Linked DNA regions of Homo sapiens: region 2 is linked to region 1. The links are contacts of gene promoters, found by promoter capture Hi-C in human tissues and cell types (Jung and others, 2019). All regions are on one chromosome and are shown on one strand. Each heading gives the region's core, a stretch centred on a gene start or on the middle of the fragment in contact. The rest is flanking DNA. Distances are from core to core; before and after follow the strand shown.

Evidence for each region. Contacts are between HindIII fragments. The study calls those that stand out against the background at their distance.
Region 2: a contact is called between a fragment that was not itself captured here and the fragment with the promoter of STXBP6 in region 1, in 1 of the 25 tissues and cell types used here (dorsolateral prefrontal cortex).

What each region holds. Positions count from the first base shown.
Region 1 is chr14:25,047,199-25,054,138 of GRCh38, reverse strand. It overlaps STXBP6 (syntaxin binding protein 6), which reads left to right and starts at 3,992. Exons shown (of 6, transcript NM_001394410.1): 1 at 3,992-4,261. LOC124903295 (a long non-coding RNA gene) reads right to left here and starts at 3,795. Exons shown (of 2, transcript XR_007064091.1): 1 at 3,705-3,795; 2 at 1,549-1,913. The HindIII fragment of the contact is 10,437 bases long and covers 703-6,940 here.
Region 2 is chr14:24,788,882-24,795,821 of GRCh38, reverse strand. No RefSeq gene overlaps it. Among named protein-coding and RNA genes, the nearest start is that of GZMB, 160 kb to the right of the region's middle. The HindIII fragment of the contact is 8,433 bases long and covers 1-6,940 here.

The DNA of each region.
Region 1 (6,940 bases), core at 2,743-5,242:
GCAACTACAAGATACTCTTAAAATTGCATATGTCTTTGGAACGGCAGATAGTCTTGCACACGACTGTGAATTCATTTAATCAAGTTATTTTACTTAGTTCCAACTTGCAGCATACTAAATGAATGCTGATTGTTAAGAATAAAGAGCAAAGACAAGCTGATTGAGATAGAAAAAGGCCAGACAGAATGAGGACAATAGGTACAGGAAAAAGGATTTCAGGAGAATATTGGAGAAGTAAGGTGCAAAAAGAGCAGAAAGGAAAATAATTATTATTTTCACCTATTTCAAGGCCCAGAAAGGCCGGTGCTATACCCCTCAAAAGAGGAAGAGAAATTTATTTCTTTTTCTTGACCCTGTTGAACAGAATAGGCTCAGTTCCTAGGACCAGATGTGAATCTGGTACCATTACAAACCACAAACATTAAATAGGTTTTTTGGAACTAGCTTAGTGACATAGCTCTTGCAGGAAAATGTGATATTCTAAAAAACTTAAAGGAAGTCCTCTTACAGCTCTAGAACAAGGACTAACTTTGAGGAATATAATGAAGATGGAACATTTGAAATTTCCAATATTTTAGAAACTATGACCAACAAAAATGGCAGTTTCATATGGTTCAACCCAAAAGTTAATAAGCTGATGACTTCCTAAATGTCTTATCTGAAATTACATCATCAGAATGAAGAATTTGAAAAGCTACTTGCTACACCATGTAGCAGAAAAAAAAATTTTAAATATAGACTTTACTAGTCTTGAAGACATACTGTGATTGATGATGCATAAGAGATGCTGTTCAAAATAGTCACATTATAATACCCAATTCCAGATCAAGCCCTCTGTGTCCATGTCAATTTATTCCATTTGTTATTTAGACAGCACTTCCTTCAACAGCCGTAGGGAACCTAAGACATCTATATCCATGGGTGTTTTAGGTTGAGGTCGACAGTGGGCATTATGGGTTTCAGGGCAACTTTAGGTGAACTCAGTTTTCCCTTGTATCACTTAATGTGATTAATGTTCACATGGAGGGTTTTGCCACGTGATCTGGCATCCTTACAATCATGAGCTTACTTATGAAACAGGGAAGATCGCTTTTAGGTTTTCCTTTTCTTTCCCAGAATAGCAATTTAAAAGCCTCTAACTTAACATCTAGATGAACCATAAGGTCTTTTTCAGTTCTATCATTTTGTGATTAGATTTTATGGAAAAGAAAATGACTATGCTTGCTCTCACGTGCATAGGGTATTTCTATAACTATATGCAAGAAACAGGCAACATTAGTCTTTCTTGAGAAGGGAAACTTGCTTTTCCTTGTACTGAGCTTTTGTGCACTGAACTTTTTTTAAATACCATGTATTATTTGCTAACAAGAATTAAAAATACAATTTAAAATGTAAGCAAAGCATTTCACTTGTTAAAGTACAGAACCTCTCCCTGCATAAATGTTTAGTTCCTGTTCTTCTTGTTCTTCTTTATGACCTTACCATTATTGTGATTAAAAAAAAAAAAAAATCCTAGGCACTGTGGGAGGTGAAACAGATGCAGAAGACTTTGACGATGGAAATTGCTATTTATTCTGCAAATATTTGTAACTACTTGTTATGTGACAGATCCTGGGCTAGGTACTTCCTCCTTTACATGACTTCTGGAAGGCTTCTTGTTTAAACATCCACGGTCTTTTTTGTTTTTGTTTTTGTTTTTGTTTTCTTTGAGAGGTCTGCATGCTTAAAATGCTTCCCATAGATAAGCAGTGGTTTGTTCTCCATGAATGCAGCAACAAATTAGGTTACCTGCAGGGAGAATCACCTCCCACACTAAGGTAGGTCCCAGGTGTTTGAGGCAGACACTACCGTGATGACCGGTACATGAGTTAGAGAACACTTTGTACAGAGGGAGAGAGTCCTCTTGACTAGATCTGCAATATTGAGAACAAAAAGAGGCAAGTGAAGATAAAAAAGGAAGGTAGTAGAGGGAGATGACTGGCAATAGAAGCTAGTACAGTAGTATCTTACTTCACAAAATTATTGAGTTACCCAAAAGCTGATTCCAAAGTTTTGTAAATATCATCCCAACACATTAGAAAGGCTTGCTAAATTAAAGAAGCTTGCTACTTAGAGCTTTTGTCAAGCAAAAAGGCCCTTATTTCAATTCAAATTTTACATAGATGACTTGTAGGTAAGAACTCTCAACATTTTCAAAGCCCTTAGACATACATTTCTTTGGATTCTCACAAAAACGCCATGAGAATTGTTTTCCCTTCCACAGATGAGGAAAGTGAAGCTTAGAGGTTGAGCCACTTGCCCATGGAAGCCTGGTAGGGAAATGGCTGAGGTTAAGACCAGGACCCCGGCACACTACTCATTGGCACTAAGGTAGCCCCATGACATGTCTCTACAGAGATAGGCAGAGCAAAAGAAACTTACTTTTTCAGGCAATTTTCTCTGATTTTCATAAAACTGTAGCTACCAAATGGGGATACCTAGGGTATCAGTTTTATGATATCCTAGGTATCCCCGTTTCTCCCATTCTTCCCCTCCAAACCATCTTCCTGGGTCTGCTGCCCTGTCCATCTTCACAGAATTCAGTTCGGATTGTCTCCTCCCCCAGCATCTCTGCTATCTCCACGTAGTCTACAAACTAAGTGCAGGAGCCACAGACTGACAGTCAGGACTTCTGCCTGAGCCCCCATCCACAGCTCAAACCCTCTTTCCTATTTCACTATGCTAATGCTTACCCCTTGCACTCCAAACAAGCAGGTCTGTGTACCACCATCTAACACCCCAACAGGGCCAGGCTAGGGTGAGGTGAGTCACAGCACTTAAAGGTTCACCAAAGAATTCAGTAATCAAGGTTAATATTTTAATGGAATATTTAAAAAAATCAAAATTAATATCAAAAATGCATGATGAAAAATAACAAAATTTTAAATAAAGACAGGGTAAGTTTAGGGGTTTTTCCTATTGCTTCAGGCTCAAAAGTGCCTTCCGGGGCACTGTTATCGGCCCTGCAGTGACTCCCCACACAGATACTTTTACTAATGATGTTTCCCAAAAGTTAGTTCTTACAACCGCTTTCTACATTAGTAACGTCTTTCTTCTTGAACGCTCCAGCATTTAAGTGTAGCGCTCTACTGTCAGGAAAACCCATTTCCCCTAGTAACTAGTAGTACTTCGAAGATATTCTGAATCATCTTGGATCCTTTCCAGCACTTTCCCAAACCACAGTGAGCACTCAGCACCACTTCGCTAAAAGAGTGCAGAATCACAATGCTCAAATCACTGTCTGGGGGGTTCAGCAGGGAGGGGACGCAGATATGTTTTGTTTAGTCCAGGGTGTTTTGAGAAAATTGAATTTGTTATCAAGATTTTACAAATCAGGATATTGTACATGAATATACTCCGTCATTTCTGGAAAAATCAGAAAATCTAGCAACACTAGGTCTAATTCTTGCCCGATAGCAAGGGACCCTGAGAGCAGATAAGCGGCCCTGCCTTCGGAGCTCTCTCCAGTTCGCCTTCCCCCAGTTACAGTGCCTGTCAGGCCCCATTAGATCTTTGAGTTTGCTATCGTAAGAATAAAGGAAGGAGCGCACAGGATAAAAACCCATCGGCTGGGTCTATTCGTTTTTTCCTAGAGAAAAAAAAAAATGTTTCCTGGTTGTCCTTTCGAATATAGTCTCACAGAGAAGCTCACAGAAGCAGCCCACCTTTCTAGCCCACAAACTTCCCACAAGCCGTGAAAGTCGCACCGGCTCTTGCACCCAGATCGGTTTCTCCCGGGTCTTTGGCTCAGGGCCCCCGCCCCTACATTGGCCTTTCCCTTCCTCTGCCACCTCCGCGCTCCGAGGCCTGGGGCGGGTCGCGGGTCCCGGCCCCCAGCCCCCAGCCCCTAGCCGCTGCTCTTTGCCCCGGGCCAGGGCGCTCGGGCTCGCCCACGGCGGCACTGAGCATGCTCAGAGGCGGCCGCGCGGGCAGGTTTGCTTCGCAGGCGCTCGCACTCGGCGGCGGGCGGGCGCGCGGCTGCAGCTGGAGCTCCAGCGCCCGGAGTTGGAGTTGCCGGGAGTTTCCCCCCAACCCCTCCCTTTTCGCGCGCGGCAGCAGGAGCCGGCGCGGGAGCCGCGAGCGGCGGCGAGCCAGCACCCGGGCCGGCTAAGCCTTGTCCGGAGCCCGGAGCCCCGCGCGGGGCAGCCCCCCGGGGAGGAGCCTCGTGCTCTGGGACGCGTGCCGCGCACTGGCACGGCAGGGGCGCGAGCCAGGCTGCACGGTAGGACCGGGGCGAGGGGAGCCAGGCGGTCAGGGCGGAGGCCAAGCCCGGGAGATGCGGTTGCAGCCGCCACGGCTGTTGGGGCGCCTGGCGCTCCGTCCGAGGCGGGTGGCTGTGAGGCCAGGGGAGTAGGCAGGCTCCCAGAGAGATTCTTCCAAGTTGGCGGGTGGCGGGAGAGGGGGCCGCGCGCCCCGGCGCAGCTGCTTTGTGCGCGCAGAGAGGGACTCGTGTCCCTGGTTCTCTCCAACCCTGGGACCCGTTGTGCGGGCAGTATTGGGCAAGCCGCAGAACGGAGCGATTTCCTCCGAGAAAGTTGAGGATGGAGCCTTTTTTTCCGCACCGTCCCCGCGATGGCATGGGCCCCGAGAATGCTGCCCCGAGGCTCCCAGTGTGGGGGAGCTCGGGGTCGCTGCGCCTCTAGCTTGAGCGCAGAAATCCGCGAATCACTCCGATCTTCGCGAACTCTGGCATCTTCTAGGAAAATCATTACTGCCAAAACTGAGGCGAGCTTTTCTGGCGGGCACGGCACCCTGCCCCCAGGGCGCTGGCCCTGGGCGATGCCCCCTTTCCGATCTCAGGCTTGGTCAAGGGCGCCAGGTTCCGAATTCGCGCTTGCCGTGCACGCCGGCATCGAGCCTCACCAACACCGCCGGGCAACGTGGCTGGAGTAGGTGGGTGGCTTGATTTTCCCTCCAACCTTTCCTCAGGTTTACAACACCCCGCCACCTCACCACCCCACCCCGTTCATCTTCACAGAGGACAGGACCTGCAGGTGGAGAATTTGGAAAGACATCTTGTTCTTTAGGAGAAAGTCCCCGGGGTGTATCTGCCCTTGGTTCTGGCCCCAGGATTTCATAACGAACCTTCTCCCCTTCCTATTACGCTTCCCTAGGGACTGGGTGGGAGAGAATAGGATCGGTAGGTCCGCAGGAACTTCCATCTCATTCCACCCTCTCCTAAGATTGCCTTCCGGGCGACCCCAGGACCCTGGAACTGGCATTGTGCGGATTGTAAGGCTGTGGAGGATGCCGACGAATTTTTCCTGGCTCCACTTTTTTCACTTCTTGTTTTGAGTTTTGGGGTTTTGCCTGCACACTAGTCAGAGCTGCGCCCTAGTCAGAGCCACCCTGGGGGTGGAGGAGCTTCAGCCGAGGCTGTGAGCTGCTGTTCGTCTCAGAGGCTGCTAGTGGGAATCGGTCCAGAAATGATTATGCAGGCTAGAAATATGCCTCTCTTTTTTTCTTTTTTGGCTGAACACCTTGGCTGTTGGGTTTGTGTGTTACGTTCTTAAAGGGACACCCTCACACTGCTCAAGTGCCAGGATTTAGGGGCTCACCATTCTGCTGCCTGTTTTTCTCTTTGCTTTTTCCTTGAGGGTAGTCTGCTTTGGGGCCGATTTCTAGATGTGCGAATCACATAATGTGGATACACTACACAGTTCTAGAGTCAGACAGACTTGAGGTCAAGTTTCAGCTTTACAGCTGATGACAGTGCTGATGGACAAATGATTAGTCACTCTGAACTTAAGTTTTCTCTTCTGTCAAACGGAGATAATCGTGGCCTTACCTCCCTCCATTGCAGGGTTGTTGTAAACTCAGATGAGATAATGAAAATGAAAAGAGCTAAGAAAACTTTAAAAGCACCATTCAGGTCTTAGATATTGTCTCTGTGCTCTTTACTCAGTTGTTTTGAATGAGCTAATTCTTAATTATAACAAGACATCTAGGTCTTCTCTCCTCTCTGTCCACTCCTCACCAAGTGGTTTAGTTGCTTGGGCCTTTGGAAGCATCTGTTTACCCTTTTTCTTTCTCTATCCTCAAATCCATCTCTTTTGATTTTAAGAATTGGAGCTCCAGTCCTCATATTTATCTGAGGAAGGCAGCATGATGTAGATTAGGAGATGACTGGGGTGGCCTTATCAACATTCAGAGTCCTAGGCCCCAGAATTGGCACGGTCAGAAAGGCCTTAGTTTGAAACTCAAGGCTGATGAAGAAGTCAGCAGATCCTGGAATGGAGCTCTGACTTGACCTCTAATAGTGACCTTGAACTAAGGACTCAAATCCTAATCTGTGAAATCAGTCTATGAAGATTAAAAGCCAGTATCAATTGAAGGCAAGAACAGGTGAGATTATCACTCAGTTAAAAAGGGTTCACACAGGCTCCTGAGCCACCCCAGGTGCAGCATCTTCCCTAATCTTAGGGCAGTGGTTCTCAGATCAGAATCATCTGGAGGGCTTGTTACATCTCAAACTGTTGGGCTATACTGCCAGAGTCTCTGATTCTCTAGGTCTAGGGTGAAGGCCCAAGAATTAGCATTTCTGACTAGTTCCAGATGATGCTAATGGTGCTACAGACCATGCCTATAGAATCACTAACTTATGGAGTGGGAGATAGTAAGAGAGATGACGTTTGTTGTGAAATGCCATTATTTTACTAGCTCATATACAGAGACAAGGTTTCTTTGGGGGTGTGTTGGGAAGTCTCCTTAGGCATTTTATGTTCCAATGCCTGTGCCACTTACCATTATCTAGGTTTAATAATTCTGATTGCTCTTCAAATGGATGTATTTTACAAAGAGGTAGGATTCCCCCTTCTTTTCATACTGTAAAATATGTAGTCTCAGGTTTTAGATCACCCTTGGGTAGTGCCGGATTGGTGACCTTTATAATTTATAAAAT
Region 2 (6,940 bases), core at 1,551-4,050, 260 kb after region 1:
TTGTCATATTTACCAGGCTTGAAGAGCAATCGTTGATTCTACCCCTGAACTTGATTCTCAAAGTGCTGTCCTTTCAAAGACATGTCATGCCCTGGGTGGAAGGTTAGAGTGGAGCACAACTCACTCAACTCTGAATCTGTTCTAGTAAGTTTCTTAGCAGTGTAAAGGTGAGAACAATGTGTGGTGCTTCGAATCTATCTGTCACGTCAAACCAGGTGTGGGCTGAGTTATGTCACTCAAATTGGTCCATAAAGGGATGAGAATTAAAATGCTGACAAAATGAGCACATCGAATTATTGAAAGCTATTTAATATGCTCAAGTTCACACCTACCTTTGGGAGATTTAAACGAGACTCCCTCTTCCAGCTGTTTTTTCTTATCTTCTGACCAACTTATTAACCAGGATTAATACAACATTTAATGCTGGGTGTCTTTTTTGGGCATCTCTTTTCTTTTTCCTTTTTTAATTCCTCCTTATATCTCTCCTTCCCTGGGATGATACCACTGGTGACTCCCGGGCCGCCCTCTAGTTGAGCCTGCAGGTGATTTTAGTCTAGTTTCCCTTTGCTTTGCACAACCTACCTCAACACTCCCTTTCCTTTCCCTTCCTCCTCACTTTTCTCATAAGATATTTGTGTAGTTTTGTGAGAGGAAGAAGAAAAAAGAGAAAAGAGGAACAACTGATGAGGAGGGAAGCCTGAGGTGAGGGGCACGAGGAGGAGTGAGAAAGGGTACAGCGTGAAGGAGAGGGGTGGGGGGTTGGAGGGAGGAGGGAAGAGTGGGAAGAAGCACGGAGTGGCATACATGAGGGGAAAAGACCACGAAGGAATCCTGGTCAGTCACAGACCCTGTGCCGCCTCCATGTTTTAATGTCTCAGACAAGCCGAAAACGGGTCTGTGGGAAGTTGTAACACTCACCAAACCCTTGGCAACAGCTATTCTTCACAGAGCCTGTGAACAATTGCCCACCTGCCAGTGTCTGACTGAAATAATAGCTGTACCTACAGGATCATTTGGAAGACAGATGGCGGAGGCAACCCCATTCATCTGCTGGCAGCCGTTTCATAACTCTCACTGTCCTGTCAGGCCAGGATGGGAAGGCAGAATGCAGCCTTGCTAATTACTGAAGCTCATTAGATTGTTGTTTTTTGAGAGACCATTCCCCTATCCCACCCCTGTCCTGCGCTTCCCCCCAAGCCCCAATGTGCCCACCCCCTCCCACAAAGTGCTTTCAGGAATACCATTGGCACCCTTAGAAAAAGCAGATCTCCAAAGTCTAAAAGCCTTAATGTTTGCTAGGTGGAGGGTTTGTTTTTGTTTTTGTCTAATATTTTCACTCTGTCCTCTTTCCTTCTTGCACATCCAAAAAGGGGTCCCTCATCTTCCCTAGTATTCACTACTTCCATGATTCTGGCCCATCGGTATTTATTTCAAAGACTGGATGACTCTTCCAATATTCCATTGTCGTTTTCTACTTAAAGTGCCATACACTCCTGTTATCATTTTTATAACGTGCATTAATCCAAAGGCTTTCTCTTAATGCAATGTGTATGGATTTAGAGAGCCTTTAAGAGCTCCGTATCATTTCAGTATATCTGATATCCTTCGTTGTCATTCAAAATCAATTTTTGAGAATTCACTATGTGGATGTGAAAAGGAGTGAGAATGGGGAGAAATGGAGAGATCTTACAAAGGAGGGCTGGCTTTATGAGCATTAACCAGTGCAGTGACCCAGGACCCCATGTTCCCTTTCATACTCTGCAGTCACCATCTTGAAATAATTAAACGTGTTTAAACAAGAGCCCGTCATTTTGCACTGAATTCCACAAATTATGTAGCTGGTTCTGCTTCAACTATTGGAAAAGTATAGAACTGCTGAGGGCTCAGGAAGGAGTACTTTCTGAGCCAAAGTTAAGAGGCTGGAAAGCCCACAGTAAACAGAGATCAGCAAGTGGAGAAGACAAAGATCAGACCATTCAGCAAAGAAAACACAGACAGAAAATATTAGCATCCATTAGAGCACTACCCCAGGAAGGGGCCCTGCATTTGACCTGCTGACAAAATCAAATTTCCAAGCCTGAAGACTGCAGACAGACCCCAGATCACTGAACACTCACCAAGGTGACAGCACCATCCCTGACACTTCTTTGGAAACAATTGGCTGGCGTCAATCTTTTCACTATAGTACCGATTTCACTAAATACCAGTTCTACTAAAACTTTAGCAGAAGATGCATCAGAAGGATTTGTAAAATAATAATAATAATAATAAGCCTGGAATGTAAGTGTGAGTCTGTAAAAGTAAGGCTTTAAATGCCACACTGAAGCGAAAGGGGAAGCTCCTGAGTATTTGGGGTGGGAAAGTGACTGGGAGCTCTGGCTGCTCCAAGAAAGGAAATATTCTTTCTAGACACATCTGGCCCTTTGTTCCTAAGGCTGGTACAGTAACAAACCACTCACCACCACCTTCCCCTGTGGCATGGTCCCCACTCACTACTCTCCTTTCTCACACTGCTTTTCCCACCCCATAAACATACACAGCAGAAGTCTCCTTGTTGTCTTCAGCTTTGGCCCTGCTGCTGCCTTGAACTCAAGTCACAGACCGTGCATCAGTCCATCACACTACACATGCCTGAATTTGTACCTCTGATCTCTTCCACGTTGCTTAGGTGAGTAATCCCGTACATAGCCCTGCTTGTGGCAGGCAGAATTCTAAAGACAGTTTAGTACTTAGGCAGGGCATGATCAAGGCAAGCTTTAGGATTAGATTTGAAGGGATAATGGATGAAAAATGAGAGATGAGAGTCAAGCCAACCAATTGGGAGATTATTGCAAATGACCAACATGAAGAAATAAGGTCCAAAATTTAATGGCATTAGATATGGATAAGAATGATAGATTTGAGAGTCTCTATGAAAGAAAACTGTCCTGACTTAGCAACTGATTGGATGGGAGAGAAGAACGCCTTCTCAAAGAGTTGAAAAGAATATGATAGAGCATCCATTAAAGTAAGTGGAAATAAATGTGTTCAAGTCCTGAAGATGACTCTTCTAAGATAAGAAGGAACCATGTTAGTTAAAATTGTTAGTTTCATGTAACAGCAACAATTCAATTCAAACTAGCTTAAGGGGCTGGAGAGTAGGAGGGTGCTACATATTAACATGCAGGTGTGTCATAGACTCTAGAGATGGAAGGTAGCAGAGCCAAGATGGTGGGAGCTGTCCTGCCCAGTGGGTCAGGCCCAGAACTGGGCAGGACAGCTGGACTGGCCCAGGTTATGGAAAGTCCCTGAAGCCACAGAGTGCTCCCTTTCCATCTCCCATCTCTTATTCTCCTGAAGACCATCCTTCTGGATCAGTTAGCCCACACAGCTGATGGAAGATAGCCCTAGCATAGCTGTAGGGTTAGAGAGAAGCCCCGGCTAAGCTGGAATTACTTAGTCCTGATTCCCAATCCCCAGGGGAGCTCATCATCAGGTTGGCTAAGATGGTTGTCCCACTTCTCACCACAGTGCCATACTGCAACTCTGTGGGAAAAGGGGAGAAGAATTAATTCTTGAGCAAGGCAGATACTCCCAAAGTTGTTTACCCTAAAAGCAGAAGTGGTATTTCAAATTTTAGTTTTCACAGACCCAAGAATGTACTCCTCTTTCTACACAGAAGAGTTTAGAATCCTGCAAAAAAGCAGCTGGATTCTAAACCCTATGCTCCCTCTAACTAGTGGTTTGAGTGACCCTTAGTACTTCTGACTATAAACTATGAAACTTGGCCCAGGTGATGCTGAGGGCTCCCATATTTAATGCCCAATGATTCTAAGTCCTTTTGAGAAGAAACAATGCTATATTGATCTAGTTCTCCTGTTTAGCTTTCCCTTGTCCTCCAAAGATCAGAAATAAAGCCTTTTACCATTAATCCTCTCATTGACTTATAAGAGGTAAAGAGCAGCCAAAGAAAATAGTTTGTAGTTTGTATTCCAAGAGAGCTAGACCACCTAAAAATCTCCTTAGTACTCGAAAAAATTTTAAAAGGAGCTTAGTTTTAATTGGCTTAAAGTCTCTTGACATAAGTAGTGGTTCTGTTTCCCACCACCACCATCAAAAATGTGTCCCTGAGACCCACTGGGAAGGACAGCTCCCACATCCTGGCTCTCTCCTGCAGTTTTTCTTAGAACTATAGAAGGTTAGACCTTCTGGTGCTTTAGTGCAATCCCTTCAATTTTTTTTTCATTTTTTAAATTTATGATTGATACAAAATCATCGCACATACTAATGGGGTACAACATGATGTTTCAATACATGTATAAATTGTGTAATTATCAAGTCAGGGTAATAAGTATATCCATCACTTTAAACATTTATCGTTGCCTTGTGAAGAGGACATTCAAAAACCTCTCTTCTAGCAATTTTGAAATATACAATGTATTATTATTAACTCTAATCATCCTACTATACAATAGAGCACCCAAACGTATTCTTCTTATCTAACTGTAGCTTTGTACCCATTGACCAATCTGAAACAATCCCCCTTTTCCCCCTACCCTCCCCATCCTCTGGTAACCATGATTCTGCTCTCTACTTCTATGAGAACAACTTTGTAGCCTCCATATATGAGTGAGATCATGTGGTATTTGTCTCTCTGTGCTGGGCTTATTTCACTTAACATAATATTCTCCAGGTTTATCCATGTTGCCACAAATAACAGGATTTTATCTATGACTGAATAATATTTCATTTTGTATATATACTACATTTTCTTTATCCATTAATCCACTGATGGACATTTAGGTTGATTCCATATCTTGGCTATTGTGAATAATGCTAGAATAAACATAAAAGTGCAAATATATGTTTGACATACTAATTTAATTTCCTTTGAATATATACCCAGTAGTGGAATTGCTGGATCATATGGTAGTTCTAGTTTTAACTTTTTGAGGAACCGCCACACTGTTTTCCATAGTGGCTACACTAATTCATATTCCCAGCAGCAGTGTGTAAGTGTTCTTTTTTTCTCCACTTCCTTGCCAACACTTCTTATCTTTTAATTTTTTGATATTAGTTGTATTAGTTCATTTACACGTTGCTGATAAAGACATACCTGAGACTGGGAAGAAAAAGAGGTTTAATGGACTTACAGTTCCACATGGCTAGGGAGGCTTCACAATCATGGCGGAAGGTGAAAGGCACTTCTTACATGGCAGTGGCAAGAGAGAGAATGAGAACCAAGCAAAATAGGTTTTCCCTTCTCAAACTATCAGATCTTATGAGACATATTCACTGCCACGAGAATAGTAGGGGAGAAACCACCCCCCTGATTCAATTACTTCCCACCAGGTCCCTCCTACAAAAGTGGGAATTATGGGAGTACAATTCAAGATGAGATTTGGGTGGGGACACAGAGCCAAACCGTATTATTCTGCCCCTGACTCTTCCCAAATCTCATGCGCTCACACTTCAAAACCAATCAAGCCTTGCCAACAGTCCCCCAAAGTCTTAACTCATTTCAGCATTAACTCAAAAGTCCAAAGTCCAAAGTATCATCTGAGATAGGGCAAGTCTTTTCTACCTATGAGCCTGTAAAATCAAAAGCATGTTATTTACTTTCTAGATAAAACAGGAGTACAGGCATTGGGTAAATACAGCCATTCCATATAGGCTTCATAGATATTATCTCTGTCCCCAAAGGATTAACAATTAAAAACCAAAAATGAAACAAATATAGAAAGAAAAGGACTATAAAATATGTGCAAAATGAATATGCAAGGCTATTAAACATTGCCTGAGGATTGATAATGTCATCATAGCCAGTGGGGAGTCCAGGGTCATTAAAAACTAAATTATTTGTTAAAGGCCATTTTCTCAATGTCTGACTCTAGTCCATGCCAGATTTTAGTAGGGCACTTGGCCCATTCTGCTGTTATTTTCCTTGAAGTTCATTTCTCGCCTTACTCTTGTCTTGGAAATGTAATGCATCACTGAGGTTGTCCTGAGTTTATGTTGTATTCACTTTTAATGCGTGCTAACTGATTGGAAATGAGAAGCAGATGGACACTTGGACCACAGATTTACTCCATCTCCTGTAATTAGATGGTGCCAATTAAGGCTTCCATGGGGTCCTTCTCCTCACTGCCAAGTAAAAGAGCTCTCCAGTGGGGCTCCTGAAAGCATTTGGGAACTAATGGTTTATTCAGTTCCTCCTTTGCATTTATTCACGGATACTGAACAAACAGAAGCCAAGTTGTCTTTGTCTTTTTTTGGTTTTTCTCTAACAGCTTCATCTTTTGACTTTTTTTTGGCAAGAGTTGAAACTGAATAAAGGGGATGGCCCTTGGCTGAACTTTGCTTCCTATTTTGAGTTAGCAGAATTTAGTTGGGGAAGGTGGGGCAGGGAGTGGGGACTCTGGGCAGAGAGCTGCAGAGTCTTAAGAAAGTACCGGGCTCTGAAACTCAGCCTCTAGCTTCTTCCAACACAGGAGGACAGGCAAGAATTTGGAGACTGACAGACCTTAGTTTGAGTCTTGGCCTGGTTATTAGCTGTAAGCTGTGTTATTCTGGTAAATGGCTAAACACAAAGATCCCAAAATATATAAATAAAGCCCTCATTTGTAACATGTGCCAATTTCTGTGATGCAAATACTCCCACCATAGCTGATTTCAAGCTACCAATGTGATGTCGCAGAATGCAAAGTTGGGAAGAGACTGGTACTATTGGCTCTCATAACCCATGTAAGCAGGCTGTAGCACATCCCTGGCTGTGATCCCCAGCTTCTTCATCTGTACAAAAGGGACAAGGTACCCTGTAGGGTCATTTTTAAGATTAAAGCAATAACTGCAAAGTGGCCAGAACAAAGCCTACCCATCCTAGGAGCTCGATAAATTGTCCCTACATATTATTATTTTAAGCTGGGCCTTAGGAAGTGGCTTTACACTGCTGAGCACTCCA